Linked DNA regions of Homo sapiens: all the other regions are linked to region 5. Evidence: promoter capture Hi-C in 16 types of primary human blood cells and fetal thymus (Javierre and others, 2016). All regions are on one chromosome and are shown on one strand. The core of a region is centred on a gene start or on the middle of the fragment in contact, and the rest is flanking DNA. Distances in the headings are between cores, read along the strand shown. Region 1 overlaps GRB10 (growth factor receptor bound protein 10). Region 2 overlaps IKZF1 (IKAROS family zinc finger 1). Region 3 has its middle 100 kb from the start of IKZF1. Region 4 holds the start of FIGNL1 (fidgetin like 1). Region 5 holds the start of HUS1 (HUS1 checkpoint clamp component). Region 6 overlaps DDC (dopa decarboxylase). Region 7 has its middle 85 kb from the start of IKZF1.

Region 1 (3,495 bases), core at 95-2,594, 2.7 Mb after region 5:
GATTTCTGTGGCCGGCGTGGAGTCTGACAGCAGAGGGAAGGGCTGGGAGGCCCCCACCTTAATCAGGAACTGGGACCACACCATTCTACAGGGACCCTCTTGACCCTCCTACAGCTAGCTACCCTCAGCTGTCACCCGGTGGGCAGGAAGGAGTCAATGTCACTCAAGCCTGAGTGCCCAGGTGGGGGTGGTGGGGGTGGTAGAGGCGGGGCTCAGCGAGAGCGGAAGAGCCCTTCTCTGTGAGGGCAGGTTAGCCTCCCAGCAGACGGGGGACCAGCCAGGGGAGCCTGCACTCTCAGGTAGGGTCACTGCCCCCTGCCTGCCACCTACGGGCCACTTCTCCAACTCAAAGAAATCCCAGGGCTGGGGCTGGATCAGGACCCAGAGACTTGTTTTCAACTCTTATTTATTTTTCAAGAAATCCACCATCTCTTTTCCAGAATTTATGTGTCACTCAATGAAAGTATACTTCCCCCTAACAAGCAAAATATTCAAATACAGCTGACATGGCTGAATAAGTCTACAGAAATACAATTTAAGTGAAGAAAACATGTCTCTGGGTCCTAGGTAGGAATGTTATTAAAATGCATTAACATAAAAGAAAAACAGGAATTTGGAAAATATAACTGAGCTCCAACAATGCTTTATAAATATGCTAACCATCATAGGGAATGTCTTCAGGACCAGTGCATGCCTTCTGCTACCCAAATCAGGGTTCCTAATGCTCTTCTTCCCTGAGTCTCTCAATGAGCTTATCTGCACTGAGGATACATGATCTTCTCTAGGAAAGTGAAATTATGTTGAAGTGTGTGTCTCATCTCTCTCCAAGTCTCTTTGCCACTTTTCTTGTTCAAATCAGCCATGCCAATGGTTTTCTCATTTTTTTTTTCAGCCCTGCTGCATTTTTCTTTAAACTCTCTCCCCAACCCCTGTTGTTCCACAGCCATCCCCCCAAAGGTCTATAAATAGCCCGGGTATTAAAAGCTGAGATGTGCTTGGTCACACGTCCACATCCACTCCTTTTAGATTCCCACAGAGGCTGGGCTGGCGAGACCCTGAGGGGGCAAGGCAGACAGGAGACTGAGTCAGACACAAAGGCAGGCACCTTCCAGCTCCAGCGACAGGCCCCTCTGCCCCTGACACAGCACTCTCTGGTACTTCCAATCTCACCAGGGCCCTCCAACCACACACAAAGCTAAGACCCAGAGACAGAACACCAAGAAAGCCCTGTGTATACCAGCCATCTCAAACCACCCAGTCAACGCGTAGAGCTACTGATGAGAATGTTTGTAAGGAACACAAGAGGTACGAGGGCTCCTATTACAGGGTACTGCCAGCCACTGACCACGGAGTCTTTTAGAGCTGGCAGTTCTAGGAGGAGCATTCTGTACAGCACCAACTGCCCCTTTAGTAACCACCTGAGCACTGCTGGGGGCTCAGGTCTCCTGCGGAGCAGGCCTGGGTTTCCCTGGCCCATCCAGTGTTCAAGCATCTCACACGAGGTGGGCCTAGAAGGTTCTCTCGAGCAGGTCAAGGCCCTTGTCCCGCAGCAACTCACAGTTCAGAGCGGAGATTGTTACCACAGGCAGTTAATTTCCAAGGTATGACTTGTTTAGGGAATATAAGAATCTGGTAACACCAGGAAAGGTGAGAAGCTGAGACCCACAAGTTCTATCTGAGTTCTATCCCGGCTTAGCCTCCTACTGGCTTTGTGACCTCGGATAGGTAATTAGCAATCTAAGACTTGCTTTCCTCATCCAAGCTGTGGGGAACTGCTCTGAGAATCAGTAATGTAAGCAAAACACTGCTTAATCAATGTATGGAAGTTCTACATTAGTTATGACCTATCTTGGCCTGGGGTGGTGGTTCCAAAGAGGAACTTAGAAACAGACTTGGCCATAACCATGCTTCATCAGTAACTAGCTGTGGGAACATGGCTGAGCTATCCAGCCTCTCTGTGCCTCAGTTTCCTCATCTGTAAAATGGAAATCTGTAAGCAGCACCAGCCTCATAGTGTTGCTATGACATGGATTAATGAGATACCCTCTTGAAAAGATCCTGGCCCCTGACACGTGCCCTCCCTGGGACGTGCTTGGATCCACCGTGGATCTGGGAACAAGGCAGGCTCCAGCTGAAGGCCTGTGGACAACCACCGAAGGGTGCAGGGGCAGGACCCTGAAAGCTGCTTCCAACTCAGGATTTCAGTTCTGAGAAAGCAAACCTCATGACCAGTTAAGATGCAGCAGGAACAATTCAGTCAGAAAAGCCACCCCTCAAATCCTCAATTTCTTTCTCTCTACTGCAAAAAAGCCCCTAAATAGCAAATTGTTTTTAAAAATAAAACGGCAATATTAAAGAGGGCATAATTATGTCAACAGCATGAAACTCTGTCTTTTTAGAGTTAGTTGGGGGAGGAATGGTTTGCAAAGCTACCCAGGCCTCTGGCTGGCTTGGCACTGAATCCCGTTATAAAAGCCCTGAAGTGCTAATAGAAGGTTCCACTGTTCCCAGACTTTCTGTTGTCACTTTTTACATATTCACTGCATAGACAAAAAAGCAAGAGCTTAATTTTTTTTGCAAACTTAAAGGAAGAAGTTTAAGAACAATTGGAGTTGAAGGTAGATCATTATATCTCCACGGCCCCAAACTCCACTCTGGGGCACCTGGTTTTTTGTCTCAGTGGCCCCCACGGGGTTGTTGTGTGTGTGGGAGTCATTCAGGCCCCTCCTTGCTGTCAATCTTAGCACAGACCCTCACTCTTGCTTCCTGCCACAGTCTTAGACCTTGCTCTTGGATAACTTACAGGCTCAGGGAATCTCATGACTGCATCCAAAAGACCTCCTGACTGGCTGTGAGTCTTTGCTCAAGGCTCAGCAGTAATCGCCTTGTAAAAATAGCAAATGGGGCACTCTCTTTGTCCTCTTCGAGCCCTCTGCAGCATAAGATGTCCCTGGACAGACGGCCCAGCCTCCAGGGTGCACACACTGACCCACAGTACCCGAGATCCACACCTACCCTGAGACCTTCACACAGAAACCGAGACATCTGAGGGCTTCTGGGCCAGCAGCTCTTGCGACCAGTTTCATCCCAGTGCTTAATTATGATCTAGCATACTTTTTAGTTCAAAAGCTCTTTTAGGATGTAATGTAAAATGGAGTTTTTAGTAACTCTGGTAAATACTCGTGGTAAATGTTTTGGAGAAGCCAGGTTGTAATCACAGGGCCAAGTGGAGGCATTCACAGGGTAAGAGAAATTATCAAAGCAGGCAAAAGGTCCCGAAGACGTGATATGAGGTTGTGCATGTGGATGAAATCCTGTTCTGGGTGACCTACCCTACCCTACCTGGCCTCCGAGGGGCCTTGAGGAGAAAGCAGGAAGACTGCTGTGCCAGGAAGGCAAAGGAAGCCTTAACTCCACGCACATGTCTCTGCCCCTTTGACAGGAGGTGGAGCTATTTCTGGAAGGCAGAAAGCTTGCCCGATGTCACAGAGGTGG
Region 2 (3,863 bases), core at 5-2,504, 2.3 Mb after region 5:
ACTTGAGGAAAGGAGTCTTAAAAAAGGGACCAGTCTCATGTTCCCATTCGTCTTACAACTAATTGGTCAAGCCAGAAAGCCAGAACTATGTCCTGGGTCACTAACTCCTAGTCACTGTGTGTTAGTATTTGAGATGCCTGTTGGCTTGATTTAGTCATTTATTTTTTAGTGTTTTATAATCCTTGCATACTTTTACATTTTAAATGGTTAACCAGGCAAATTGGTTTAAAATCAGTGCATAAAAATACTGTGCCTATCATGATGGGTTTCATGAAGTGATAACTTTTCATCATGGAGATCCTCAGCTGTCACAGAAGATGAGGGGCCCTGGGTACAGAGGCTCACGTGAGGGATGAAAGTCTCAGCAGCCCGGACTTACACTTTGGGGCTTTTAGGCAAATCAGACAACCTCTTAAGAACTATCACTGAGTTCAGGCAAGGCGAGCTTGAATTAACACAGGGCCCTTGGTGGGCATGTGAATATATCTCACTTCACTACCATCCAGTTCTGACTCTTTACTAGATGCCCCTGTACATACCAAGACTGATTTTTTATTCTCCCTTCTCCCCATGTGGTTTCTTCTGCATAGAGAGTTCCTATTGATCAGTCTGACCCATGGTATTTTAGAATTGCGATCCCTACTGTTTCATTATTCCTTTTTCTCCCCCATGTTGAAAAAAATAAATGTCCTGAGATGCAAGATCAGGGACACTGGAGCACTGACATTTAGTTCAGTGCAGGAACTGAAGGCAGATGTAATTCTTAAGAAGCGTACCTGTTATTATGAACCATCCTCAACAAATTGTAGTGGATCTTGTTTTCTCATAGATACAGCAGTTAAATTTTTTAATAAAAGTAACTAAGAGTTATTTGGATGTATTTTAGCATGCACTGAGCGGAAAGTACGACATTTCTTCATTGGGTAAGTCCTGATTCTTTATGATCCTCACTTGGTTCCAGGGCCCCATGCATCTAAGGGTGTCTCAGAGCATCCTGCAGTGCTCCAGCATGATCGCAGGGAAAAGCTATAGGAGGAAAAGAGTCAATAAAGTTTAGTTTCTCAACCTCCCACCTCCACCCCATAATAATGACAGCTGGTTAATCATGAGACGCGTGCACACCCCACACGCCCTGTACATGTTTACTCATTGGGATAGCATGTCAGGCCAGAAGGCTCCATGGTCATTTCTATGAAGGTACTTTAGCAGGTCTTCAAGAAGGCAAGTGGCCTGGGTCCCTGCCTCCCCAAATTGCAAGCTCCCTGCTTTATGTAGGAGACCTATGTGTATATTACAGTTCTGTGTAAGATTATTTTGTTATTCTTACCCCCACACCCACCCCCCAACCCCCCGCTGCCACCAAAAAAAAAAAAAAAAAATTCCTCTGACAACCTTCATAAAGTCCTGGGAGTTTGAACACCATTGCTCTAGGAAGTCATCTTATACAAAAATAAGAGTTGTGAGGTGGTTCATATACCTCCTGCGTTCTCCTATTTGGAGTTTTTCCCCATTTATGAAAGAGGTGAAAACGCTAAGATATTTAGCAATTATTACTTTAAACATTTTCTATTTATAGGCCGGGCGCAGTGGCTCATGCCTGTAATCCCAGCGCTTGGGAGGCCAAGGCAGGCAGATCACGAGGTCAGGAGATCGAGACCATCTTGGCTAACACGGTGAAACCCTGTCTCTACTAAAAAAATACAAAAATTTAGTTGGGCATGGTGGGGGATACCTGTGGTCCCAGCTACTCGGGAGGCTGAGACAGGAGAATGGCTTGAACCTGGGAGGCCGAGCTTGCAGTGAGCCAAGATCGCGCCACTGCACTCCAGCCTGGGTGACAGAGCAAGACTCTGTCTCGAAAAAAAAAAAAAATTCTATTTACAGCAGTGAAAATAGTAGTGACTTAATGCACATTGCCAAGGCTTTAGCATAACATGAACACTTTCACTCAATGTCTCTCTGGCCTTTTGTTTTTCCTTGGGAAATTCTTATAATCCTGCTCCGTCTTTAACTATTCATTTTGTATTGGCTATCCAAATATACCCAATAATGCTCTTTCTGAAAATATGCCAATTGTGGTAATTACAGCTAAGCTGGAATATTAAATTGTGATGTCTGTTTTCCAGAGAATGAAGTAGTATTCCCCAGAGCATAGGCTTGGTGCCTGTGCAGGTTCTATTTTAAATATTCCAGGAAGGGTTGTTTTATATACTGAGGATGATTTTACTGGTCTTGCCAGTCGTCTGAAATGCTGGTATTACTCTTGTGGAAGGTTTATTCAAACAAACAAGGACATTTCACACAATACCTAGTCATGTTTTTCAGACATTTTAATGTTTGGTTCATCATTTGCACACACTCTCAAAAATCTAGGTTTGTCTATGTGTTCATATCATTTTGCCTGTTGCCAGCTCAGTCAGCAGGCACACTCTCCCAGGCTGTTGCTGTTTTGTTAGACTTCTTCAGGACCTTCATCTAAAATGGTCTTCCACACGTAGCTATACTGCATAAGTTCACATCATCTGTTTCTTGCATGTGGGTTGTGTCTCAACTCAAGTTTAAGTTAGATTTGGAAGGGCGGAAACTATAGGAGTTGCAGCTTCAGTGGAGAAAAGAGCATTTCCTACTAGTTATGGCTTCCCAAGGAAGGTTAGATTCCTCAGAGTAGGAGTGATTCCCCAATGCTAGAACCTTTGGTCAAATATAATTCTAATCCAGTCAAAATAAATACAGGTATTCTGTAAAACCCGATTTCATTTTGTAAATCCTACTTTGTATAGTATAAGCAATTTTTGTATTTGTGTGGATTATATTTTATTTTCCTATTTCAAAGAGAAGAATTTGTATTAGCAGACTCCCTTTGCATGCGGAGAGGGGATCATTTTCCCAGTAGGCATGGGGTTCCCTTCCATTCCTTGTCCAGTCTTCTTTTCCCCACTAAGTTAAGTCAAACTAAGCAGCTGGTAAGATATTCCCTGGTTCTTGCAAAGAAAGTGAGCAGATGGCAGAATGTATAGCTCTAAGCAGAATACCTGGTGTGGTATCCTCAAACACAAATTGACAGGAGGGTGTGGTGTGGCAAGCTCATTGTGGGGGTAAATTGGAATAAGCTTACAGGGGGAAGAGTTGACAAAAGATAGGAAGAACCTTAAAAATATAGATGCCTTTTATGCAGTGATAAAATGTCTAGATATTTATACTGTGGTGATTATTAGGAATATGTGCAAAGATTGGCTATTAGGATGTTCATTACAGTGTTGTTTAATAATTATAAAAGGACAGAAAGCAATGTGGACTCAAAAATAGGAAAAGAATTTAAATAAATCCTAGTGTACCCGTTATACATGAAATTATGGAAATATGACCCTGAGCATGGAAATATGTACATGAGAATGTCTAAAAGCTAGTTCATTTTGAAAAACAAAATAATGTCACCTCATATTATTTATAGTATATAAAGATGATTTTAAGAGTGGCAGTGTCTGGGATTATAGGTGATTGTATTTCTTCCCTTTTGCACATCTATGTTCTCTCATTTGTATTGTGTGGGGAGAAGTGACTTTTTTTATAAAAAGAAAAAGGTATATGCATCCCAGCAGAGAAGCACTGGCTCCACCCAGTACCTGCCTCCTCATGCCACCCTCTCAAGCCAAAAGCCGGGGGAAGCCCAGGCACCTTGACCATGACCGCCCGAGACTCACACTTCTTCTTTCTCATCAGGGAAGGAAAGCCCCCCTGTAAGCGATACTCCAGATGAGGGCGATGAGCCCATGCCGATCCCCGAGGACCTCTCCACCACCTCGGGAGGACAGCAAAGCTCCAAGAGTGACAGAGTCGTGGGTAAGTGGGTCACCAGCGGCCTC
Region 3 (3,591 bases), core at 1,007-3,506, 2.2 Mb after region 5:
GAAGCCACTGGGCATGGATGGGGGCCTGAGTGTGGACTTCATGACACATGTATGCTTTCTGTTTAATGGAGAAATTTAATATTGAACATGTTACAGTAAGAACTCAAATCTCCTTAAATAAAGGAATTATTCTGATACTTCTGAACAGAGAGGGGTAAAGAGAAAAGCGTAATTTAGGGAATGACATGTGTTTGGATTTGTGTGCTGACTTTCCTGTTTATTAGCTGGGTAGTGTTGGATAAATTAGCCCATTTTCTCTGAGCCTTAAGGTCTTGCACAGTGAGACGAGAATCTTACCAACCATGTCATAGGGCAATGTGTGAGTGGACTGAGAAGAAGGCACCTGCATGAACCCACAGAATGCCTAGCAAAACGTCTCCCCTCTCCTGGAATGGCCCAAGTGGCCCAGGTTATGTTGCCCGATACTGAATTGCACTGGGAAAAGACACATGGTTTAGCTCAGATAAGCCAGTGGGGAGGCCAGATGTCATCTCTGAGATTTTATAACTGAGTGGAACTTTTTATGTAGGAAAACAAGGTAAAAATTTCCCAAGGGGTTTCTACGAGATTTCCAGCACTTCCTAAATTAGCCCTGACCAGTAAAACCACGAGAGAAGACTTCCTGGCAGGGCTTGGCACTTCCATTTCCAGAACCAACCGAAAGCAGGAAGCATTGAGACAAGTAATAATTCAACTCTTCAGTTGGCTTCCAAAATTATCCACATTTGAGTCCCTTGGCATTTGTACCAAAGGTCAGGAGTTATTCTGATTTTATCTGTTCCAGGTCTTCAACTTGTTTTTGAGTGAACCAAATGCTTCTCACTGATGGAGGTATTTTATGTCTTCCTCCTCACCCCAGTGTATGCTGAACAAGCCTCCCAGTGATGAGCAATTCCATACAATTAGCAGAAATCCCTTAGCTTGAGGTTGTCCACCATTAACCTGGAAATAAAAACTTTAAAATTCTGCTCCTTGGATTTAGATCACCTTGGTACAATTCTCAGCTCTGCCATTTATTAGCTGTGTGACCGTGGGGAAACTTTTAACATTTGCTATGTCTTGGTTTCCTATTCTATAAAATGAAGAAGCTCCATACCCATTAGGATGGCTACTCATTCAAAAAAGTTAAAAGAAAAAACACACAAAAAAAAAGCATTGGCAAGGATGTGGAGAAATCATCATCCTGGTTGGGAATATAAAATTGTACAGCTGCTATGGAAAACTGTATAGCTGTTCCTCAAAAAAATTAAACATAGAATTACCATATGACCCAGCAAGTCTGCTTCTCGGTATCTGCCCAGAAGAATGGATCTGAAAGAGATATTTGTATGTCCATGTTTATAGCAGCATTATTCACAATAACATCCACCAAAAGGTGGATGTTTCCATCTATAAATGAATGGATAAACAAACTGTGGTAAATGCACAATACGGAATATTACTCAACCTTAAACAAGAAGGAATTTCTGACACATGCTATGACATGAATGTACCCTAAGGACATTATACCAACTGAAATAAGCCAGTCATTAATGAATAAGTGCTGTTTGATTGCTCTTATATAAGGTCTCTAGAGTAGTCTAATTTATAGAGAAAGTAGAATGGTGGTTACCAGGAGATAGGGGGAGATGGAAATGAGGACTAAATGTTTAATGAATTCAAAGTTTCTGTTTAGGAAGATGAAAAAGTTCTGGAAATCATAGAGAAAGTAGAATGGTGGTTACCGGGAGATAGCGGGAGGTGGGAATGAGGATTAAATGTTTAATAAATACAGAGTTTCCATTTAGGAAGATAAAAATGTTCTGGAAATGGCTGGTGGTGATGGTTGCATGACAGTGTCAATGTACTCAATGCCACAGAACTATATGCTTAAAAATTGTCTGAAATGGTACGTTTTATGCTATGTGTAGTTTACTACAATTAAACTTTTTTTAATGAAGAAGCACTTTATTTTCAAAAACAGTGTTGGAACATTACAATTTTTCTATACCAGAAATTCCATCATAATGCAATCGTGGATTCTAGGCAAAGCACATAACCATACTAGGCCATCACAGGACATGTCACCTCATTGGTGTGGCGCATTCTTAGAAGGCCTGGCCTTGGCTTTAGGGTAGCAAAGCTTCTCTGGCAGGTATTCAGCTGCAGCGATACAGTGCCTGCGTGGGCATTCCTGCCCCTGGACACGTGGACACATGGAGTTTTCTGGCTTCTTTGTGAATGATACTCAGGCCATGAGCCCCAGTCCCTCCACTAAGAATAAATCCATAACCTTATTTTGAGCACATAATCTGATAGATCATGATGCCAGTGATAAGTTTGCCTCACCATTTCCCTCTTCTATTTTCTTTTACTATGGTATTCTTCCCCCCTTTCTTTTTTCACTTTTCTAAGCTTTATTTGAATGTTTCTGTCTGCTGCAATGGTTTGTCCAAAGATCAACAAGAATAGACAGGGTGTGAGTCCCCAGTCACAACAGTTTTTGACTCCTGTGTTGACTCAATGAAGTCAATAGAAGTTCAAGCCCATCCTTTTTCTCTGACATCCTGGAAGCTCCTGTGTCTTCTCTTGATCCCTTTTGATGGCCTTTGCCCTGTGACCAGAAGAATGCAGAGCATGCTGCAGTTTGGGACCTCAGCTCTGCTGTCAGCACTATGACAAGCTCTTGTTATCTGGTCTCTGTGGTTTTTGATGGGCCAGTGAAATGGGGAGAGGGTGGCCTTTAGGGCCACATAGATGTGAGTGCAAATTCCAGTCCTGCCACTTAACGGTTTTGCATCTACTCTGTGAGGCTCAGTTTTCTTATCTGTAAAATGGAAAATTAATAAGAACCTTGCAGGGTTGTTGTGAGCATTGAACAAGATGATGCAATTAGAGTATGTCATGTAAAAGAGGCAATGAACTGTTCCAAAGCCTAGTGGCTCAGAAGAGCAAGGAGTTGCTGTCTCTCAGGACTGTGCGGATTGTTCCCTGAAGAGTGTGGCCTCAGCTCATCTGTGCAGCTTCTTTGAGCTGTGGGGTCAGCAGAGCTGGTGGTCACATGTCTGGCAGTTGGTGGCTGCCTCAGTTCTTCTCCATGTGACTCTCTTCCTCCAGAAAACCAGATAGGTATTCCTTCCTAGTGGTCTCAGGGCAGTTTCAAGAGGTCAAAAGCAAAATCTGCAAGAGCCCTCAAGGCGTAGCTTCTGGAATTTGCACAACTCTGTCTCCATCCATTTCATTATCCATTGATGTCAGTGCAAGTCACAGGCTGCTCCTGAGTCCAGACTCCAGGGATCAGGAAATGGACCCCACTTCTTGATGGGAGAGCCCCAAAGCCACATTGCATTCTTCTGCTCTTGTATGCTCACCTCTGACACTATCTACTGTCATACACCATCTTCAAGAGTAAAAATAGAAGAGATAGAGATTACTGACTGACACTTAGCATTCCTAAATTTTGAATCTGACCCTGGGTCAGCAACCTACCCCTGCAAGCTTCCCATGGGAAGCTAAGCCTCAAGAGAAAATCCCTGGGTGTCACTGTTGGCCTCAAAGCCACGTAGAATCACTTCAGTGACACCACTTGCCTGAACTGAAGGGAGCAGGAGT
Region 4 (3,884 bases), core at 221-2,720, 2.5 Mb after region 5:
AAGCTAAATAAGCTAGAGTCAAAACTAGATCTGACCTCTTCTGTCAAGCAGTTCATCCTTTTTTTCACTATACCATTTTGATGTTAAACTCATTTATACAATACTAGAAATGAGAAACTGAAAGAAAGGTGACTCAGAAAACACTTGACACAAACTTTCACAATTAATATTATCATTCTCTTCCTCTCCATGGCTTCATTCCCCTTTATCATCTGTTATCCTGAAATTTCTACCATACCTCAGAGTTCTAGTCACTGTTCTCAGAATAAACCCCCTTCTCTTTTCCATCTTCACCTTTCCTTCAATATTCATCTTCCAAGTCTTACTTCTTCCTTTCAATTCAATCATTTAAATGGCAAATAAGGATAACCAAAAACTGGCCATCACCGATCAGTGACACAACCATTGTCTTGTTTACCATTTCCAAGTCAATTTAACCTTTATGGCCTTTCCTAGATCTAAAAAGTATGATTAATTAGCACTGTCATATGAACTGCATTTCAATCTTCTTTATTTTGCCAATGTTCTGATTATTTTAATAATGTCATTATCTGTCTTCCTAGACAGTTGGCTTCTGCAGGGAGGAATTGTTTTCCATTCCATTCACATTGTCTTAGTACCTAGAATACAGTGTCCTTTGGAATAATAGCTACTAAAATACTGACGGAGTGCCTACTCAGTACCAAGCACTGTGCAAGCCTTTCATAGGATTCTGTTCTTGATGCAAAACGGGAGTTAAGAGCACAGGGTCTGGAGCCAGGCTGCCTGCTTTCAAATCCTGGCTCTATCATCTGCCAGCAGTGACTGCAGGAAAATCTCTTAATGTCTTTCTGCCGGTTTTCACCTATAAAAGAAGCGCAGCAACATCACTGAGCTGACAAGGTATTTTAATTCTGCAAAGCACTAGACAGAGGACTCAGCACTTAGAAAATACTCTATAAAATACTGCTTCTTCTGATTCCTCACGATGACCCCTGAAAGGTATGAGCCCTTCTTTCTCATCACAGAGATTAAGAGCTTGCCTGGGTCACAGGGGAACTGACTGACCCCCGCTGTGGGCGCCCAGAGCCCCGCTGGGCCCAGTAAATGCCTGCGGTAAGCGGCCCCGCCCCCGGACAGGCTCTGCCAAAGGAAGCCGCCCGCAGACCTGGCCCCGAGCCTGCCGTCCACGCCGGGCCCCAGCTTCCTAATCCTGGATGAGTCTGGTTCTGGGCTAGCGGGTCAGCCACCCTCCCGCTAAGACAGAAGCAAAAGGGCACAGCCACTGCCTGGCTCCCGCCTCCCACGGCCTCCCGCGAAGTCACCGCCCCGCGACCCCCAGCATTCCAGAGGCACACGCCCGCCTCTCCCCTACGCCCCAACCCTGATGCTCCACAGGGGTCAGCAGCGCCCCTGCCCCGCCTCCCGTCACCGCATCCTACCTGCGGCTGGTGTGGGACGCTGGCAGCCTCCGAAAAGCGCGGGGACTGACGTGCGCCTGCGCGCTGCTGTCGCCCTCGGACTCGCGCCGTACGTGCGTGCGTGAGTGCGTGAGTGCGTGCGTGCGTGCGTTCGGCGCGCGGGGCGTGGGCGCGGCACCTGGGCCCGGGCACCGCCACCTAGGCCCTAGCTCCGACCAGTGGTGTTCTATAAACGCTTATTACATCATTGTGCATAGGCTTCATTTTTAAAAGTACTCCCAAATAAATACAAGGAGGCGATGGAAATTGAATGAAGATTCGAAGGATTCCCATAGAGCGTGGCTCACTTCCCCTCACCGGGACAGCGAGCGGCGGCTCACCTGGGAGAGCAAAGCGTGGCTCTCCTGCGCCCACCCGGGAGAGCAAACAATGGCTCACCTGCGCCCACCCGGGAGAGCAAGCGTGGCTCACCTGCGCCCACTCGGGAAAGCCAGCCGCCATCCTGTGCTGCAGGCAGGGAGCGGGCGGCGGGAGAGGAGCGGATCCACTTAGGTCAGCGGTTAAAACGTCGTTACAAGAGGCCACCCCGGCATCGCGGGGCCTGTGGCTGCGCCCCCTCTTGAATTCAGGCCTAGCACATCACCTCCGCCCCTCGCACCCTGCAGTCTGCGCTCCATACAGCACGTGAGCGGGTGCTCAGCAATGTTCCCTGGCTGAAAGAACCGCATAGAGTAGCATGCAAAAATGACATGCATGTTTAAGATAAAATAAGGGAGAGGACACCTGTTCTGACTGAGTCTGGCAACTCAGATCTCCCCGCAGCCAACATCTACATTCCTTTGGACAGCTGTCTGCTGTGTAGGGACACCTCCCTGGAACTTTGAAAAGCACCCCATCATTACCTTCCACTTTGTTCTGGAGCAAGGTTTCAAAAGAAGAGTGCCGTATTTTGATTAATTTAGTGAATTGGATTTTCAGACACAAGTAAGAGCATCCACTCAGTGGCCTCTGCAGTAAATAATGATATCAGATCACATAACAAGAAGACTGGAGGTTGGCGGGAAATCTGGACCTGGTGACTCAAAGAAGTCATGAAGGACCATCTCTCCATTCTGCCACCTTCTCGCCTGTGGATTTTCCTCCCCAGGCTTGTCACTTCATTGTCGAGAGATGCCCTCACAATCCAAGCCAGGCAGCCTCACATGACCAGATCTAAAACACAAAGAGGGAGCCAAACTGAGAAAGGACCTTTTCCCTCTGAACACTTCTCTCTTGGAAAAAGAAAATGTTTCCCAGAAAGCCTCATAGCCTTCCTCTTATATCTCCTTGACTAACTGGGACCCGGATCCCTGGATATCCTTTCCTGAGAAAGAGAGGGTCTGGGGCAGGGGATAGAGAAAATGACTAGCAACTAGCAGCACATGATGTTTAAACATAAGATTTAAAGAAATGCAAGGCACAAACAATTTGAAGACTTTTTTTAAGTTTTTAAAATCTTCACAAAATAAAAAGGAATTGGACAATGCACTTTAAAAACTAGAAGACGTTTCACTGAAAACAGCATCTCCTAATTCATTTCATGGCTTAGATAGTAATAGAAAATTATTTTATTCTAATTCCATACTTTATCAACTAATTTTAATTATTTTATAATTACCCAAAATATGTCATGTAGAATGAAAATAAAAGAAAATGAAAACAGTTATATCAAGGCCAAGTCAGTTGTATGTTTACTGGCTATTTAGAAATTTCTAAATACGTGTATATTTAGAAATGACTATATAGATACTATTTGGGTAATGTTAGGGATGGAAAGTTTATGTCCCCCCAAAATTTGTATGTTGAAATCCTAAGCCCAATGTGATGGTTTTAAGGGGCGGGGCCTTTGTGAGGTGATTAGGTCATGAGAGTGGAGACTTCATGGATGAGAATAGTAAGTATCCTTATAAAAGAGACTCCAGAGGCTGGGTGCAGTGTCTCATGCCTGTAATCCCAGCACTTTGGGAGGCCGAGGCAGGTGGATCGCCTGGGGTCAGGAGTTCGAGACCAGCCTGGCCAACATGGCAAAACCCTGTCTCTACTAAAAATACAAAAATTAGCCAGGTGTTGTGGTGGGCACCTGTAATCCCAGCTACTTAGGAGGCTGAGGCCTGAGAATTGCTTGAACCCAGGAGGTGGAGGTTGCAGTGAACTGAGATCGCGCCACTGCACTCCAGCCTGGGGGACGGAGTGAGACTGTCTCCAAAAAATAAAATACAATAAAAGAGACTCCAAAGAACTTTCTAGCCCTCTTGCCACCACCTAAGGATGCAAAGAGTTGACAGCAACCTGGAAGAGCCCTCACCAGAACTCGACCATTCTGGCACTCTGACTTCCAGCCTCCACTGTGAGAAATAAATTTCTATTGTTTATGAGCCACTCAGCATATGGTACTTTGTAGCCCTAGACAGGCTAAGACAGGTAATTAGCAATTTTAGGTGATTT
Region 5 (3,872 bases), core at 786-3,285:
CAAAGAGTTGAGAGTTATGAAGAAAAGCTGGGCTGGGCGCCGTGGCTCATGCCTACAATCGCAGCACTTTGGGAGGCCGAGGTAGGTGGATCACTTGACGTCAGGAGTTCGAGACCAGCCTGGCCAATATGGTGATACCCCGACTCTACTAAAAAAATACAAAAATTAGCTGGGTGTGGTGGTGGGTGCCTGTAATTCCAGCTACTCAGGAGGCTGAGGCATGAGAATCGCTTGAACCCGGGAGATGGAGGTTGCAGTGAGCCGAGATCGCGCCACTGCACTCCAGCCTGGGTGATAGAGAGACTCCGTCTCAAAAAAAAGGAAATACGAACCTCATTCTATGAGTAGGAAGAGCAACTCTGGATTGTATGTATGCGCATGAGTTTGTGTATTTGTGTGTTTGGAGGACAGCTGTGCACTAAATTCATCTGGCAGTAGCATATAAAACATACGTGTACTGAAGAACGAGGGGCCATTTAAAGGTTATTATAGCAGATGAGGCAGGGTGGGAGTGGGGAGAAAACATGTCAAAGGTGAAAATGGATAGAGAAACCATGATTTCTAGACAAGGTGACAATACCACTACAAGAAACAGAGAGGCTGGAAGTTTCACGGCTTGGAAAAAGCAGCATTCTAGCTGAATGCATATGATAACAACACAATTTTAAAATGAGGAGGAACTGACTCTAATGCAAAATATAGTTATGGACCAGATCTTTAAATTTAAATAAACCAAACAGCTTTCAACAGTATTTATTGTTAAAAAGGCTAGGCTAACTATGTCTATTCCTTCGAGGCCAAGACTTCTGTGTTAGAAACCCTGACTCTCCTACTCACCAGCTCCACGGAGACCGTGAGGCAGGGAAAGTGTTTATTAGTCAGTTTGATTTTCAAAGCCCTGGCATTCTGGGCAGTCTTCAAGGCTCGAGATAAGTTTTCCGATGTTAGCTCTAAATAAATCTCATTGTTTTCTGCAGAGACACCCTCCATTTGAAATTCGTTGAAGAAGTTCTCCTAAGGGAAAAAAAATGAGGGATGAGGGAGGGTATATGTGATCTTTCCAGTGACAATCTGCAGAGTGTGCAGGCCTCTCAGAAGCTTTTGCTCACCTGTTCCAGCTCACACCACATGCTCACTCCTCCATTAGCCAGCTTGTCACAAAGGATGAAGTTAAGCTTATCAGGGCTGATGCGGAGGGTGCAGGTTTTGGCAAGCTTGGCTATCATGTTACTGATTCCTAAAGCAGGGGTTAAAATAAGGAATTACTAAAATGCACATTATGTATCCTAGAGACCAACTTATTTTGCAGAATTTCTTGTTCATCAACTTCTCGGTGGAAAAATAACCACTTAACGTTGGTATCACACTGGAAAGTACTTTAATACCCCTGATGTCACGCAATTCTCCCAACAAACTAGGGGAGATGTACAGCACACATCATCAGTGTTCAAATAAGAAAACAGGCACCTACCAGTCATTCATTCATTCAACATGGATTTATTGACTACTAGGTACTGCAATACACAGTTAAATGCAAGGTTAGGCACTGTCAGGGTGGAGGGACGAATGGGGCCTTGAAGGTATGTCAATGCCTGATAAAGCCGTCTATGGGAGCAGTGGCCGCTTTTTTTTAAAGCCACGTGATCGGAATCAAGTTTCAGAAACGTCCCTTGAAAGCCGCCTTCATCCCCACAAGTGCCCTCCGACCCGCCCCGCGCCCTCCCGGCCCCACCCTCCCGCGGCCTACACCAGCACCCCCATCCCGGCCCCATCCTCCCGCGGCCCCTTCCGGCGCCCATCCCCGTTCTGATCCTCCTGCGCGGTCCCCACCGCGCGCTCACTGCTTCCTTCCGTTCCTCCCTCGCTCCTCTCCGGCCTCCCTGCTCACGTGTGAAGTGGTTCAGACAGGCCCCGTCCACGATCTTGGCCCGAAACTTCATGGCCGCGGATGGCGCAGCCGCGGCGGGCCTCTGTGGGTAACAGAAAAGCGTCGCGCCCTGAGTGTCCCCGCCCGGAAACACGGCAGCGCGAACAGTGGTTCCGCCCGGCTCGGGCTACGCGACTCTTACCAGGGTTATCTCCGGGCCACGCCCCGGAGGAGGTGGGGCTAGGGGGTCACGCCCTAGAGGAGGTGGGGTCACGGGTCAAGGATCACAGGTCACGCCCCGGGGGAGGTGGGGGTCCCAGTCTCCGGGTATGCCTCCGCGCTGCCGGGTAATGGTGGGATCTACTTTTAGTGAGGCGGAGGCTTCAAGCCCCAGATTCGGGGAGGTTGTTCTGAGAATTCACGTTTTGAAAGAATTTTGTGACACCTATTTCAAGTGTTATTTTAAAATATCCAAATAAAATTAATCGTTTATAAAGGTTAAACAATATTATCTTAAATATACCTAAGGTAGAGCAGCTTTAAACCCTCCAGCCTCAGATGACGGTACTGGTACTTTGGTATTGAAGCATCTTGGTGGATTAAGGTTCTGAAAATTGTTTCAAATGACTTCTAAAAAAATTGAACATATTACTGGCTAGTTGGTAAAGTCGGGAAGCTTAAAGAACACTGACGTTAAGTGATAATTCTGCAGTTTGCCTCAAGACGAACTTTATTACATCCGATAAAATTCTTATTAGCATAAATAATGTCATTAGGATTTTTTTTAAAGGAAAAATTTTAAAGGGGGAAATGAAGCAACAATTGTATCTAATTTGGTTTTTCAAAGACTAAAGATTATCTGTGTTAACAATTGTTATTTTTAATGTCCTTTGCAAATAGACTAGAACCTTGTCTTTAACTTGACACATAGAATCAAGATAATGATAATGCAGATGATGATGATGATGATTTTGAGACGGAGTCTGGCTCTGTCGCCCTGGCTGGAGTGCAATGGCGTGATCTTGGCCCACTGCAACCTCCACCTCCCGGGTTCGAGGGATTCTCCTGCCTCAGCTTCCCAAGTAGTTGGGATTACAGGCACAAGCTACCATGCCCGGCTAATTTTTGTATTATTAGTAGAGACGGGGTTTCGCCATGTTGGCCAGGCTGGTCTCGAACTCCTGACCTCAGGTGATCTGCCCACCTCGGCCTCCCAAAGTGCTGGGATTATAGGCGTGAGCCACCGCGCCAGGCCCAGATAATTTTCAAAGACACATGCACACATATGTTTATTGTGGCACTATTCACAATAGCAAAGACTTGGAACCATCCCAAATGTCCATCAATAATAGACTGGATAAGGAAAATGTGGCACATATACACCATGGAATACTATGCAGCCATAAAAAAGGATGAGTTCATGTCCTTTGCAGGGACATGGATGAAGCTGGAAACCATCATTCTCAGCAAAATATCACAAGGACAGAAAACCAAACACCGCATGTTCTCACTCATAAGTGGGAGTTGAACAATGAGAACACATGGACACAGGGAGGGGAATATCACACACTGGGGCCTGTTGGGGGGTGGAGGCCTGGGGGAGGGATAGCGTTAGGAGAAATACCTAATGTAAATGATGAGTTGATGGGTGCAGCACACCAACATGGCACATGCATACCTATGTAACAAATCTGCACGTTGTGCACATGTACCCTAGAACTTAAAGTGTAATAATAATAAAAAGGTGCAAAATACAAAAATTGCAGTTTTTGCCTATTTTAAGACTATAACATGAAGCAAAATTCTAATCTTCATTGTCATATGCGAGTGTTTGCCAAACCAAACTTAATAGATCACTTTCAAAGTTATGCCAACAGGCAGGGCAGGATGGCTCTCTCCTGTAATCCCAGCATTCTGGGAGGCCGAGGCGGGTGGATCATCTGAGGTCAGGAGTCTGAGATCAGCCTGGCCAACATGATGAAACCCCGTCTCTACTAAAAATACA
Region 6 (3,823 bases), core at 1,133-3,632, 2.5 Mb after region 5:
ACAGCTGGACATGCTTCAAAGAGGAAAGGGAAAATCTGTTTTTCTCATGGCCATTTAATTCAGAACTTAACTACCTAGAAAACCTTATTAGACTGCCCATGTATAATTCATTTAGACGCTCTTGGCAATTTTCCTCAAGTGCTTTTACCGTTCACTGACCAGCTGTTTCCAGGCAGGCTAAGAAACTCATTCCCTACATTAGCACAGGTCTAGTGTCCTCAGAACACCAATTGTCATTTTCTTCTGTTCATGGGACTATTCTTATCCCACCCAAACTGTCTTTTATAATGTTAGAATAAACACCGTGAGGAGGTATTTGATCATTCTGGAAGAGACAATGGCTAATGCCCATCGAGTTGCTCCTCTGTGCTTGAGGTGCCAGCGCTCACCACTGCGGCATCCTCAGGACAGCCCACAACACAGAAGATATCATGATTATCCCCATTTTGGAGATAAGAAAACAGGCTGGGAGAGGGTGAGCGACATGCCCAAGGTGCACCCGGAGGCCTTGGCTGAGCTAGGATTCTAAGGCAGCCTGATGGAGCTGCAGCTCTGTGGCTGCCACAGCTGTTGCTCCTCCTCCGCGTTTGCCACCTAGAGCTGGGCATCCTGTCCGCTCTGTCACATTCAGAAACGGCCTTCCTCTCATTGAATATCACACTGACCTTATTTCACTTCCAAATAGTTATAGAACTCAGAAGCTATTCAGACAGCATGTGATCCTAGGAGAAGGAGCCCTCCGTGGCGTAGGCCCGTGCCTTGCTCATTCTAAGCCCGCGGATACAGCAGGGCCCCCATGTTGCAGGTGCTGGGGAGGACCTGCGGAAACGCGGCGCCTCGCGGGCAGGGGGTGGCTGGGACAAAAACACGTGTCATACGAGTGGTTCCTCGTCATGCCACCAGAGAGCGCCAAAGACCTCGGCCTCATGGGCGATCCCGAAAGCCGGTTCCCGCCCAAGGAGACAGGCTTTGAGCATCGCTGGACTCTGCTCCTAAGGCAGGATTGGGTCCCCTTTAAGAAAGAAGTGGAGTGTGTTTTAAACAGGAGCCAGCATGATCATAACTAGTTGTCCTTGAGCTTAAAGACGTCATCATTGTGGGGAGATAAATCCCTTATTTTTTGGCTTTCTTTCCCCAAAAAAGCTGAATTCGTCTCAAATGGGTAGAGGGGGATTTCCTACCCAGGAATTCATATACATACTCCTTTCCCAGTTCTCGCCCCCAAACAGGTCCTCATAGTGCTCGGCAGCTCCTGGAACTGTCCTCACCGAAGCTTTGGGAGTAGGCAGTTCATGGCACATCCTAGGCATTCTATGAAGCTTGCAGATGGATGTGTTTATATATGCTGTGCCACAGAGGAGGTGGCTGGGGACACCTGCCCCTGCACACCTGGTTGTGAAGTGGCAACAGGACTTAAAATGGAGGGCTGTTACCATCACTAAGGCTGAATATCATAAGTGTGCTTGTTCCCATGAAGCCTGGGGACCTCTGTCCATCAAGATGAGGCCACAGCTTAGGAAGGACACCAGGATCAGAGAGAGCCAGCAGAACAGCAGCAGGCCTTCTGCAGCTGGCTAAACGGGTGGCTCTAGGCAGATCCAGGCTCATATTCAGGACTCAGTTTCCTCATTTTTTTTTTTTTTTTTTTTTTTGGTGAGACGGAGTCTTGCTTTGTCACTCAGGCTTTAGTGCAGTGGCACAATCTCTGCTCATTGCAACCTCTGCCTCCCAGGTTCAAGTGATTCTTCTGCCTCAGCCTCCCGAGTAGCTGGGATTACAGGTGCCTGCCACCATGCCTGGCTAATTTTTTGTATTTTTTTTTTAGTAGAGACAAGGTTTCACTATGTTGGCCAGGCTGGTCTAGAACTCCTGACTTCATGATCTGCCCACCTCGGCCTCCCAAAGTGCCGGGATTACATGCGTGAGCCACCACACCCAGCCAATTGTTATTTTAAAAAAAAAAAAAAAAAAAAAAGCAGGGGAGTGGGGCTTGGAGCTGATAAGTGGTTCTCAAATTTTAGTGCATAGAGAAGGTGTCTGGTTTGCTTGTTAAAACAGAGGTTGCTGGGCCCCACTGCAGGCCGGCACTGCTGGTCTGGAAGCATGTCTGAGAACCACTGGACTAGGGAATATCTATCTTATTCTGGCAATTTTGGGGGAGAAAAACACAGTCCTTATGTTCTCATAATTGCCATTGCTCAATGAACTTCATTCTTGGCTAGATGTGGCTAAAGCACAACCTATGTGATGTTTCTACTGTGACCATCTTCCTGGACCTGATAACCTGCAATCTTAACGAAAGTGACTTAACAGATCTTATAAATAACCTCATCTCAACAACCCAAACTACAGTCTGGTTCTCTTGCCATGTATTTGCTTATTAAGACATTTGAAGGCCAGGTGCAGTGGCTCACACCTGTAATCCCAGCACTTTGAGAGGCTGAGGTGGGTGGATCACCTGAAGCCAGGAGTTCAAGATCAGCCTGACCAACATGGTGAAACCCAATCTCTACTTAAAATACAAAAATTAGCTGGGCATGATGGCGCATGCCTGTAATCCTAGCTACTCAGGAGGCTAAGGCAGGAGATTCGCTTGAACCCAGGAGGCAGAGGTTGCAGTGAGCTGAGATTGTGCCATTGCACTCCAGCCTGGGGGACAAGAGTGAAACTCTGTCTCAAAAAAAAAAAAAGAAAAAAAATTTGAATTTATTTCTAAAGTCCCGAAAGACCTCCGCAATTTTACCGTGATAAATAATAAAAACAAAGTCACCTTGCGGATATAAGCCTGCAGTCCTTTGACTCCATACATCCTAAATACAAACCACATTTTCAAAGAGCGAAATCTTCTGCCCAGTGGTATCTGCCAATGCTGAAATGAAACATGAAACAGACCATCAGTGAGGAAGATATTAAAAGCTGGCTTCCTTTTCGGCTCACCGGCTCGCCTATTTCTCTTGGAGGCAGCCGATTCCCTGGTGGCCAACCTGCTCCCATTGCCATGGCCTGTCTTGGATGGCAGGGCCCTCGGTGATGTGGGCAGAGGCTTTCTTTGCAAATCTCCAAGAGAAAGGAACACAGATGGGGACTGTTGACCTGGGAGCCAGTGATGTTCATTGTTTTCACTCAACAGGTGTTTGCGGCATGCACAGCAGGGCCAGACCTTGGGCTGTCCCCTAGGGTTCCGTGGTGAGCAAACAGGGAAGACACGGCCCTGCCCCCAGTGAGCTCACCATCCAGTGGGGATAAGGGGGTAATTTTCATTGATGTCCTTGCCTACGAGGAAGGAGGGAGCCAGAACCTGCTCTTGTCTGCCACTTCTGCCCCAGATGTTCTGGCACTGTTTTCTAGAGCAATACTGGTTCCCTCTTGGTCCTACTGATCACCATGGAGTGACCCCAAGACCCCTCATCAGAAGACACAATGTGTGTCTCCATGCTGGTGCTCCAGAAGCTTTCCCTGTCCTTCCTCTGGTTTTCCCAGACCCAGTCAGTTGACCGGCCCCCACACACTGAGGGATGGAGATGTGGTGAAGTGAGTAAGGAAGGACTGGGACGAGGAGACTGCTGGGAAGTGAGCATAGCAGCACTGTGTGGTCATCTTAACAGTCATATTCTATTTCAGCTATAAAGGAGACACTGAGGAGAGCTGAGCCAGCTCCCTACTGGGCCTGGGTGACACAGTGCAGCCAGGCGCGACACTCTAGCGCAGCTGGGCCATCTGCCGGGTGGGACTGCTTAGCCGGAGTCCTGAGTCCCGCACTGCTCCCCAGTAGGAGGGCTTGCAGGTGTTTTTTAAAGTGTGGGTGAAGGCCGGATGCGGTGGC
Region 7 (3,492 bases), core at 333-2,832, 2.2 Mb after region 5:
ATATTGTGGGGATATTTTACTACCAGTTTATTGGTATTAGTCTCCAATAACAATAACCACAACTGGGCAAATCTCTTTTTTCATTTCACTGATTAATATTAGAGACAAAGTTTAAATGCCCGAGAGAAGAACCATCTGTGAAAATGAATTGGGAGGGCTGTGATGCAAACTCCCTTATCGAGGTTGCACTGTGTGCTTGGCATCGATTTCATTATCTCCCATTTCCTACTTATAATGTAATGGTCAGCCTTTTCCTGTTACCCAAGGGTAGCAATTTCCACTTTAGAGAACATATTTCTTACATATCCTTTGGTAATCATGGACAACTTAATGATTTCCCCTTGCTCTCTACACAAGAGCCTCCTGCTGTCTTTCAAGTAAAAAGCCAGGCTCTCCTTTGCAGGCAGGAAGCCTGTGGCCAAAGCCCTGCTCAGCAATCTGGGATTGCACATCTCACATGGCAACGGAAACTGAAGTGGTCTTTAAATGCCAAAGAGGAACCACTTCTCAGGTTGAAATCAGGCTACCAGGCCTTTGGGAAAATGCAGGCCAGTAACCAATTTCTGAGGGACAGATCACCACAAGAGAGAAACGTGCTCCCCAAACAAATATAAACCTCATTTTATTTAGAAGTAAGGCTTCTTCATCCTCTCCAGCTAGCAGCCGTGCTGAGGTGGGGGAAAGGTACTGACTTACCTGCTCTCCCTGGCTGATGACATAAAGGTGAGCACCTGCCAGGTGCAGTGGCTAGCGCCTGTAATCCCAGCACTTTGAGAGGCCGAGGCAGGTGGATCACCTGAGGTCAGGAGTTCGAGAGCAGCCTGACCAACATGGAGAAACCCCATCTCTACTAAAAATACCAAATTAGCAGGGCGTGGTGGTGCATGCCTGTAATTCCAGCTATTCAGGAGGTTGAGACAGGATAATCGCTTGAACCCAGGAGGTAGAGGTTGAGGTGAGCTGAGATCGTGCCATTGCACTCCAGCCTGGGCAACAAGAGCGAAACTTCGTCTCAAAAAAAAAAAAAATGAGCACCTTTCCACAGTGCCAGTAGAAGATGAGAGTCTAAGCCAGATATGCCCATAACTCCAAAGCTCAGGAAGATCCCAGGGGTTGGGAGCTGCAGTCCAGAGGAAGGGTGACTCCTGGTGGAAACAGGGGCTGCAACCACACCACAGGGCTACTTGGCCCCAGAGCAGACTGCATGCCTTAGAAAAGGCCCTGGGAACAGCTGTATCTTGTCCTTCCAGGATCCTCCAGATAGAGAAGCCAGACGTTGGGTGGAGGAGGGACTCAGATGGGGCTTGAAGGGAAGGGCCTTGTGAGGGCTGTAGGTGGCACACACTGGCAGAGGCACTGAACATACGTGACCTCCATCCTCACAAGAACCTGGCAACCAAGTGGCAACCCCATGCTCAGAAACAAAACTGAGGCTCAGAGAAGTTGAAGAATTTGTCTAAGGTCATGAAGCTGATAATGGAGGAAAATGGGATTCCAACTCAGGAGAGTTAAGCTCCAAGCCCTTGATTTTACCACTTGGGCCTTGTTACTCAAGGTCCAGGAACAAGTGGCACCTGTGCCACCTGGAAACTTGGTAGAAATCAGATCCTCGTGCCCCACTTCAGATGTACAGAATCAGAATGTGCATTTTCTCAAGAGTCCCAGGTTTAAGCATGTGTTCTGCCTTCCTGGGGAGGGTCCTTGAGCACTTTGGGGTCACAATTCAGCACCAAGTGGTGGTACATTCCCAGGTCAGGAAGAGGCTGTGTGTCTCTGGAGTAGAAACCCTAAGAGGCATAATAAGCAATAGTGCTTAGGAATAAGTGCTCAATTGTGATAATCAAACAGATAAGGAAAATAATGAGAAGGTGAGATTTCATGAAAGACAAAAAGACTAGTAGATGTTACACCTCTGGTTGTTTCTGAGTTTGTGAGCTCTTCGTCCATCTCTCCATCCACTCATTCATCAGAATGACTAAGGATCTAAAATGTTGGAAGGACACAGGCTGTCTCATTTTGCCTGTTTGGCCCACAGAGAGAAGTTAAAAGAGTTTGTTCTTACACCTAAGATGAGCTTCTAAGTTCAGTTACCAGAATTTTCAAGCAATGCAGAAAGTGGCATTCTGTGGTGGTCTTTAGAAAAGCAGTATCTCCTAAATCAAAGCAAGAGAGAATAAGACCACACATAAATCAAATGAAGAAAGAGTAGTGCCATCAATGATAGAGACAGACCTGAGGAGAGGGTGGTGGTAGAAAGAATCTGAATTAGAAAAGGGAGGAGAAGAAAGCCATGAGTGATGCTTGTCAAATTTGGGACTGGGCCCACACTGGCATTAAAGAGACCTGAATAGTACCTAGAAGTGTTCTGGGAGTTTTCACCATCCTGTGCTCCAATCATATCCTAATAGTTACTGATTTGGAAGTGGTACCCTGGGTCACATATGTCAATATCAATAGAAAGAAATGATTCTTATGGTAAATTCACAAAAGGATTATTTTTGGATTATAATTTGGCATCATGTGAGTTTGACTACCATGGGCTTGTTTCTGAGAATGTGATCACTTCAAGATGCCCTTACAAAATTGATCCTCTCTATTCTGAAAAATTGTAAGCCCTTGACCTGGCTTACTCACCTAACTACCGAGTGGCCCAATCAGCAGGTCTCCTTTCCTGGCATGGCACTGTAACCTCCTCACCCTGGATCTCTCCCACTACTTTCTTACAATTCAGTTAAGGGATCACCCATACCCACATGCTCACTGCCTCTCCCACAGTTAGTTCCTGAATCTGTTTTGACTGAGGTTGCAATTACTTAAACTTTTGCAACCATCCCCTTCTCTCTATTCAACAGGCAGAACCTAATATCATCACTCTTATTACGTGGCTAACCAGGGAGCTCCTGTTCTGTGCCTCAATTACCAACTCTCCCTGTCCTGTGCATGCCCTAGTCTATGGAAAGGACTTTAAGTGCCCTTTTCTGTCTCCATTTAGTCCTCCAAATGCCTTGCTTTCAATATTGAAGTCCAGCTTCTGAACACCCTACCAGGTGGCAAGGCTCCAAGAACCATTTTTTTAAGTGGTTCCATACTGCTTGGCATCATTTAGCCAATATGCTCAGGGTCTACACTCCATCTACCACTGGGATCCCATCACCACCTGCCTACCCCACTTCCACTCCCACAGCTGACAACTTTCCCTGAACAAGATTGAGATTGTTGTGCTCTTGGACACTTGTGCCCAGCCTCCCCTGCCCTGACAGCATCCTTGCCCTGTGGGTTCCTCCAGCCTCCATTTTCTTACCCCAGTGGGGAGACTAAGCACCACCTATGACTATCTCTTTACTTCATTACGTGGCTGGAGATGGAGTTTCTTCTGTAAATGGCATCTGACCTATCTCAAGATAGAGGAGCCCAAAGGAGTGATCCGAGTGAGTGAAGTGAATTAGTGACAACTTCATGCAAAAAAGTTTGAGACACGTCATGGAGATGAAT

What was found. Contacts are between HindIII fragments. The CHiCAGO score rates a contact against its expected background, and 5 or more counts as called.
Region 1: a fragment that was not itself captured here is called in contact with the fragment with the promoter of HUS1 in region 5 in 1 of 17 cell types (total CD4 T cells); the score reaches 7.4 in total CD4 T cells.
Region 2: a contact is called between a fragment that was not itself captured here and the fragment with the promoter of HUS1 in region 5, in 3 of 17 cell types (total CD8 T cells, total CD4 T cells and M2 macrophages). The highest score is 10.2, in total CD8 T cells.
Region 3: a contact is called between a fragment that was not itself captured here and the fragment with the promoter of HUS1 in region 5, in 1 of 17 cell types (activated CD4 T cells). The highest score is 6.4, in activated CD4 T cells.
Region 4: the fragment with the promoter of FIGNL1 here is called in contact with the fragment with the promoter of HUS1 in region 5 in 8 of 17 cell types (activated CD4 T cells, total B cells, total CD4 T cells and 5 more); the score reaches 18.2 in activated CD4 T cells.
Region 6: a contact is called between a fragment that was not itself captured here and the fragment with the promoter of HUS1 in region 5, in 1 of 17 cell types (total CD8 T cells). The highest score is 6.7, in total CD8 T cells.
Region 7: a contact is called between a fragment that was not itself captured here and the fragment with the promoter of HUS1 in region 5, in 1 of 17 cell types (monocytes). The highest score is 5.1, in monocytes.

The regions. Positions count from the first base shown.
Region 1 is chr7:50,628,382-50,631,876 of GRCh38, forward strand. The region is part of intron 7 of GRB10 (growth factor receptor bound protein 10); the gene reads right to left. Among named protein-coding and RNA genes, the nearest start is that of DDC, 65 kb to the left of the region's middle. The HindIII fragment of the contact is 4,252 bases long and covers 1-3,470 here.
Region 2 is chr7:50,323,918-50,327,780 of GRCh38, forward strand. IKZF1 (IKAROS family zinc finger 1) reads left to right here. Exons shown (of 8, transcript NM_006060.6): 3 at 3,721-3,840. Among named protein-coding and RNA genes, the nearest start is that of IKZF1, 21 kb to the left of the region's middle. The HindIII fragment of the contact is 3,707 bases long and covers 1-3,108 here.
Region 3 is chr7:50,199,612-50,203,202 of GRCh38, forward strand. No RefSeq gene overlaps it. Among named protein-coding and RNA genes, the nearest start is that of IKZF1, 100 kb to the right of the region's middle. The HindIII fragment of the contact is 272 bases long and covers 2,121-2,392 here.
Region 4 is chr7:50,448,880-50,452,763 of GRCh38, forward strand. It overlaps FIGNL1 (fidgetin like 1), which reads right to left and starts at 1,471. Exons shown (of 4, transcript NM_001287492.4): 1 at 1,422-1,471; 2 at 239-844. RefSeq lists silencers at 992-1,286, 1,428-1,617. The HindIII fragment of the contact is 8,767 bases long and covers 1-3,884 here.
Region 5 is chr7:47,977,580-47,981,451 of GRCh38, forward strand. HUS1 (HUS1 checkpoint clamp component) reads right to left here and starts at 2,036. Exons shown (of 8, transcript NM_004507.4): 1 at 1,889-2,036; 2 at 1,110-1,237; 3 at 838-1,014. The coding sequence starts at 1,940. RefSeq lists silencers at 1,557-1,606, 1,687-1,746 and an enhancer at 1,817-2,106. The HindIII fragment of the contact is 1,329 bases long and covers 1,213-2,541 here.
Region 6 is chr7:50,467,303-50,471,125 of GRCh38, forward strand. It overlaps DDC (dopa decarboxylase), which reads right to left. Exons shown (of 15, transcript NM_001082971.2): 12 at 2,771-2,869; 13 at 1-13. Among named protein-coding and RNA genes, the nearest start is that of FIGNL1, 19 kb to the left of the region's middle. The HindIII fragment of the contact is 2,131 bases long and covers 1,318-3,448 here.
Region 7 is chr7:50,217,670-50,221,161 of GRCh38, forward strand. No RefSeq gene overlaps it. Among named protein-coding and RNA genes, the nearest start is that of IKZF1, 85 kb to the right of the region's middle. The HindIII fragment of the contact is 5,453 bases long and covers 1-3,492 here.